2 separate regions of the Homo sapiens genome follow, and region 1 is linked to region 2. The links are contacts of gene promoters, found by promoter capture Hi-C in human tissues and cell types (Jung and others, 2019). All regions are on one chromosome and are shown on one strand. Each heading gives the region's core, a stretch centred on a gene start or on the middle of the fragment in contact. The rest is flanking DNA. Distances are from core to core; before and after follow the strand shown. Region 1 overlaps KLHL32 (kelch like family member 32). Region 2 holds the start of FHL5 (four and a half LIM domains 5).

Region 1 (3,098 bases), core at 351-2,850, 550 kb after region 2:
TACAAAGATGATCTCCTCTATATTCTGTTTTTGTGCAAACGACTCTAACAAATTTCCAGTATCTTACATGTGCAAATTACAACTGTCTTCAAGGTAAAAGTTAATTGAGAGAAAAAATTAATAGGTTAGAATCTTATTTTTTCTTTTCTTGCTTCCTGACTGTTATACCTACTAAAGGGATGTGGGGTGGGAGGGGGAGTCTTTTTTCTTTCTAAATCATTCTGCTAGTGTTATGTTGACTTTCTCTCAAGTACACCCTGTGGTCTCAGATGATCACATATTTTCTTACGTTACTCATATTGATACAGCACCTTGGCTTATGGGTTGACATATATTACCTGAGCTTTGATGACACCTCCCACCATTGACATTTCCTGGTGGTGGGGTGTACTGAGCCTCTTATGCATGAAACATAAGGGAACAGGCTGTTTCACAACAGCATTTTCATTCTTTGAAAATCAATTACTGTTCACCCCAAATGGTATCTGAAGCCCCCATCAGTGTTGCTTCACATTGTTTCTTACCCCTACAGCAATGTCTTGAGTGCTTTTGTGTCTTTGCTGAGACGGAAAAAAAGTTCCTCACATGGGCTTCAAAATATTCCAGTTATACTGTTTGTAAGAAAGTTTGTATTATTACCTGCCTGGAAGAATACAGGTAACCTACCTATATGCTGTTGCTTTCTCTTTCTTTCTTACCTTTGTGTCTCCTCTCATCTCACTTCCCTCTGTTTCAGCTAGCTGTGAGGTGGTTGGAACACAACTGCCACTACCAGTACATGGACGAGCTCCTGCAATACATCCGCTTTGGCCTAATGGATGTGGATACTCTCCATACAGTTGCCCTGTCCCACCCCCTTGTCCAAGCAAGTGAGACTGCAACAGCCCTTGTCAACGAGGCCCTGGAATACCACCAGAGCATCTATGCACAGCCTGTCTGGCAGACTCGCAGGACCAAACCACGATTCCAGTCAGACACTCTGTATATCATTGGTGGGAAAAAGCGCGAGGTCTGCAAGGTCAAGGAACTTCGGTACTTCAATCCTGTTGATCAGGAGAATGCTCTCATAGCTGCCATTGCCAACTGGAGTGAGCTGGCTCCCATGCCTGTGGGAAGGAGCCACCATTGTGTGGCAGTCATGGGGGACTTCCTGTTTGTGGCAGGAGGGGAAGTTGAGCATGCCAGTGGCCGGACGTGTGCTGTGAGGACTGCCTGTCGCTATGACCCCCGCAGTAATTCCTGGGCAGAGATAGCACCCATGAAAAACTGCCGGGAGCATTTTGTGCTGGGTGCCATGGAGGAATACCTCTATGCAGTTGGGGGCAGAAATGAACTGCGCCAGGTTCTGCCTACAGTTGAGCGATATTGCCCCAAGAAGAACAAATGGACTTTTGTTCAGTCCTTTGACAGATCCCTTTCATGCCATGCTGGATATGTGGCTGATGGTCTTCTTTGGATATCAGGTAGAACATACCTCATGTTGGATTTATCAAAACACACTTTCATTGTGGTATATATTTAAAAGTCAAGCTTTAATACTGTGGCCATGTGTAATTGAAAGATTGAACCAAGCATGCCATTTTAGCTAATTAACATTCATTTATTGAGCACCTACTCTAGAGAGCAATGTAATTGGAAATAATATGCCTTTCTGTGACTTTCTGAGTGACTAATGGAATAAAAATTCAAGGTGGAAATTGTTGGTCCATCACAACTGTTTTTTTCCTACCAGAACTTCTCCTGTCAGCTCTTGATTATTCATGGATTGTATTGCACAGCTTGTGGTTTATCTAGGTCCTTTGCTTTTTCTTTCACCCCTGGCTACCTGACTAGAGCCATTTCATCAAAGACAAGGCAAGAGAAGTATAAGCCCAGTTAATCCATTTTTCTGGGTATATCAATAGGTATATATCCAAGTAATCACTATGCTGTGCATTGAGAGAAGGGATTTAAGTTACCAAAACAAAGTTGTTGTTGTTGCTGTTTCAGATAGGGTCTCACTCTTGTTACCCAGGCTGGAGTGCAGTGGTGCCATCTCGACTCACTGCAACCTCCACCTCTCAGGCTCAAGTGATCCTCCCACCTCAGCTTCCCAAATAGCTGGGACTACAGGAGCACACCACCACACCCAGCTAATTTTTGTAATTTTTGTCAAGGCAGGGTTTCACTACATTGCCCAGGCTGCCCTTGAACTCCTGAGCTCAAGCAATCCACCAGTCTTGGCCTCCCAAAGTGTTGGGATTGCAGGCGTGAGCCACTGTGCCCAGCCTAAAACAAAGTTTGTTTGTTTTTAATTATCCGTGAATGGTAGTTACTTGTGCCATTCTAACCCTTCATTCCTATTTACTCTCCTATTTTTACTGATGGTACAGTTTGAGCTCTAGTTTACCTTTTCATCTCTTTTGAAAACCTTTTGATTATGGAAAAAGTAGGGAGACTAGAATAATGAACCCCATGTACCCACAACCCAAAATCCACAATTAACTACTCCTTGCCAATCTTGTTTTCTCTACACCCACAGACCCATCACACCCCTCTGGGCTGCCTTTTTGCTTATACAGAAGGAGTCTGTGAGGCATATGCTATCAACATCACATTATAAACATGTGTTTTCAATCTTAGTTTTGAGAAAGGCCCTAAGTGTTCTCCTTTGAAAGGTTTTTCTATCAGGAAGAAAGCTGCATTTTCTCCCAGTTGGAAGATACTCATATTGTAATCCAAATGGAACTTGTTGGATTTCTGTGTCATCAAGCACTAAGAGGAATAGAAAGGGTAAAAAACTTAAATATTAAGAATAACCCTGATGTTTGTACTTAGAAGAAATCATTACTTTTAAGTACACCTGCAAAGGCTTCTCAGCTTTCCTCAATAATCGTCTCTAGTGTTCTAACACCTGCTCTGACAAAATTCTCCCTTGCACTTCTTTAAATTCATTTGGACTTTGACTGTTCTTCTGCTGTCCTCAATAACCAGGAAGATAGTCACAGGCTCAGCTTCTCTGAGCGGTGCCTCAGTTATTGGCAATTCACTGAGTTTTATTGACAGAACCTAGCTCACATCAGGGTTTAAGTGCTCAATAAATTAATGAATGAAGGGAA
Region 2 (3,447 bases), core at 330-2,829:
CTGCAGAGAAGCATACTGAACAGAAGATAAAGCTCTAGGGAAGAGTGAGGTGAATAGAGAGAAAGTGAGGGTGCTAAGAGCAAACAGAAAATCAGAAGGGTGTAACATAGCAAAACCAAGGGAAGATAATTTCAGAAAGAAATAGACATGGCCAGAGATGAGAATTTTTCGGTAAGACTGAAGACCATACTCTTTGGGTTGCTAATCAAGGTTGTATATGATCTTAATGAAGCTTTTTTGGAGCGGTTCAAGTGAAAGACAGATTGCAATAAGTTGGGAGGGAGAAGAAGGCTCAGAATGTAGTAGGTTTGGAATGACTTGGTGGATGTAGATTACCCTCTCAGGAAGCATGGGAGCAAATAAAGAGGGTGATGGTCCCAGGCACTTTTACATCTCAAGGACTGCTTTCCTTGCCCATAAAACAAGGAAAATACAGGCAGTACCTGTTTAGCAATGGTGTCCTAAGGATTAAAATCTATTACTAATGAAATATACTTGTGTCCTTTTGCTGAATCCAAATTTATTGTTGTTAGTCGCCATATGTTCATTTTCATAATGTCTTAATCATTAAAGTCAAGTGAATAACAAAACATACAGTTAACTGGCTCTGCATTTCTCTAGCTCAAGTTCTTTGACTGTATATACCCGAGTTTGACCTTAGAAGATATTAACATTTCATTCCTTTAGCAGTTAGAACAAGGACAGTTTAAGTTTGGTCTGGGATTAAGGCAGAATTTCTTCTCTCATCCTGCCTTCCAAACTGAAGAAATGGCCTCAAATGGAGATTCTAAGAGAAAATGTCACTTGCCTTATGAATCAGTGTGCCCCACTGAGGATACCTATTATGGATTGGTTTAATATCCAAAAATTTCTTCAGATCCAACTCTTGACATCTCTGTCCACTTTTTGTGTTTTGAAGATTTCAAAAGACTCAATGAGTTTATGCTTTATGAAGTCATAGAGCCATGGATGTGATGTCACAATTGTGGCCAGCTCACCAGGAAGCAGGCAGAGCGGGGAAGGCTGAGTCCACACTGCAAGTCCAGAGAGCAGGGAACTACCTTGAGTATTCTACTCAAACTTATGTCTCAGAGTTCCCCAATTTCCCAAGAAGGGAGAGATAGAGGCCACAATCCAGGGGGCCATCTCTTAAGGTACCAATAATTTTGCAGGTAAGAGCATGGGACCTCATCCCTTTCCAGATGGCCTCAAAAGGAGATTCTAAGAGACAATGTCCAAAAGAAAAGCTCAGCGGTTCAGACATTTCTAACCTAAAAGAAGGGTTCTGATCACCACCAGAAAACAAAGAAAACAAAGCCAAAAACAGATTGAGGAAACAGAAAATACATCATCCTTTTAGAGTATTATTTTTATAAATATGCCCTTAATTTAGCCTAGTTAGTGGAAATTTCTCAAGTGTGTATGCGTCTGTGTGAACATTGTGTATTTTAAACTTTTTGGAGCTTAGCCAGATACTTCGAATGCTAATCCTGGCAGAATTTCCCTTTAAGGATGTCCTGCAGAGAATTTGTTACTCATAGTTTTAAGTAAAAATTGACAAATAGTGCTTTTTCAGCCCAGTAGGAGTCATGTACACGGTATAAGACTTGGAGGAAATGCAGGGACCCTTCTGTTTTCTCCTGCAAAGTTGAAAAAGCTGCATGCAGTTGGAAGGGATCTTCAGATGGTGCTGGTGACTTTCTGTTCCTTTTGGAGTTGACATGCATGTGGATTGGAGGAAAAATAATCAACATATATTCTCCTTTCGTACTGTTTAAATCACAGGAAGAAGCGGCTTTAAGACAAAGTGAGTTCTTTCCCCCAAATATTTCCTTTGTTTTGTTTTGTGGTATTTTGACTTCTCTAATTTTTTTTTAAGGATGAGAAATTTTTATAAACTTTCCAGTAACTACTTAAGAGAAAACTTTTGCTTGGCAAAAGTGTATGCCTTTTGAAGTTTCTTAGCCATTTTAGCTAAAGGTTATCAAATTTTATATGCTGAGCTTTTCAGATTTCTCATTCTTATAACTTGCATGTGGAGGTAACATAGGGGCCAGATAACTCCTTGGAATTGCCTCTTGAGTTTTTCTAATGGTCTTAATGTGGGGTATAGCTTTATTGTTGTAAAAAGAGGAAGAAGAGGAGGGCTCTTGAGATTTTATTTGGCTTAATTTATTTGAATGAATAACATTATCACTGAGCATATTTTATGACTAGATTTATATTTCAAGAGCACATTTTGAAGTCACTTACAGGTTTTAAGTAAAAGGAGTTAATGAGATTCCTGCTATTTTCAAGAAAAATCTGCCTACTTTCCAGAAGTGGGCATACAAAAATTCATAATCTTTAATTTTCTAAGGTTAAATTAAAATATCTGTGTTTCCAGCCCACAGAAATATATAATAGACTATATCAATCTAAAGTGCTACTTCTTGAAACAGAGGTAGTGTTATTCAGGCAAAAAGCATACATCCCATATGTGTTAATGCTTTCTCTCTCACTATTTTAGTCATATCCTCTTTGGTACCTATCATTCATTTGAAAACCAAATGCAGCTCCTCAGCTGTCATTTCAGACTTTAGAAAATTGGAAACTAAAAAGAATTATTAACAAAATGCATAGCTCTCATACATAAAATGTAAGGAAATCCTTGAGCCATTTTAGCCCTCATTTTATATCCACAATACCATCATGTGTAAATACTAGCATTTTTATTAGCAAAGCATATGGATTAAAATTTAACATAGGTATTGCAAACATATGTATCATACAAGATATTTCTTAACATATGTGTTATGATATATGCTTTAAGCCATAATCCAAATTGCTTTAAGGGGAAGGTAAACTCTAGTGTCTGTTTTCTACACTTGTTCTATTTATTCTCACATTATTATTAGTTGCCAAATCTGGGACTGTTCTACCTAAGCAAGAGTAGTAGATTTGTGTTTTAATATAACACCACCTCACTGACAAATTTACCTCTTATTTTTATTACACTTACCAACATTTTGAGTAAAGCTGAATTAATCTGTGTTTCTTACATAAGACTGGGTACTTTTCTACTATAATATTACAAATAAGAGTTTAGAAAATTTAGAGATTTAGAGAATATTTAGAGACAGATATTTAATTTGTCTGTTTTTATTTTTTCAATCGAGGGAACATGATCTCTTTAGAAATGAAAGCTGAATACTTGGGTTCGCATGGGAAGCTCTGAATCAGATATTAGTTAAACCAGCTTGCATTTCCTTGTTCTTGTAATTATCTTTTTCCTCTCCAATTACCATAATTTTTCTTGGTTACTTTTTGGTACCCTGAAAGCTCATTGAAGGAGAGGAAGAGAAGAAAGAGGTAGAGGAAGAGGAGGAGAAGGAGGACTCCTTTTTGCCCAACATGCCTCAAATCCCTGCAAAATAATCAGCTTGAGGCCAGGCACGGTGGCTCACT

The links. The method cuts DNA at HindIII sites, captures the fragments that hold promoters and counts their contacts. A contact is called where the count stands out against the background at its distance.
Region 1: a contact is called between a fragment that was not itself captured here and the fragment with the promoter of FHL5 in region 2, in 1 of the 25 tissues and cell types used here (mesenchymal stem cells).

The regions. Positions count from the first base shown.
Region 1 is chr6:97,113,047-97,116,144 of GRCh38, forward strand. It overlaps KLHL32 (kelch like family member 32), which reads left to right. Exons shown (of 11, transcript NM_052904.4): 7 at 737-1,463. Among named protein-coding and RNA genes, the nearest start is that of MMS22L, 170 kb to the right of the region's middle. The HindIII fragment of the contact is 6,348 bases long and covers 1-3,098 here.
Region 2 is chr6:96,561,549-96,564,995 of GRCh38, forward strand. FHL5 (four and a half LIM domains 5) reads left to right here and starts at 1,580. Exons shown (of 6, transcript NM_001322466.2): 1 at 1,580-1,807. The HindIII fragment of the contact is 7,723 bases long and covers 1-3,447 here.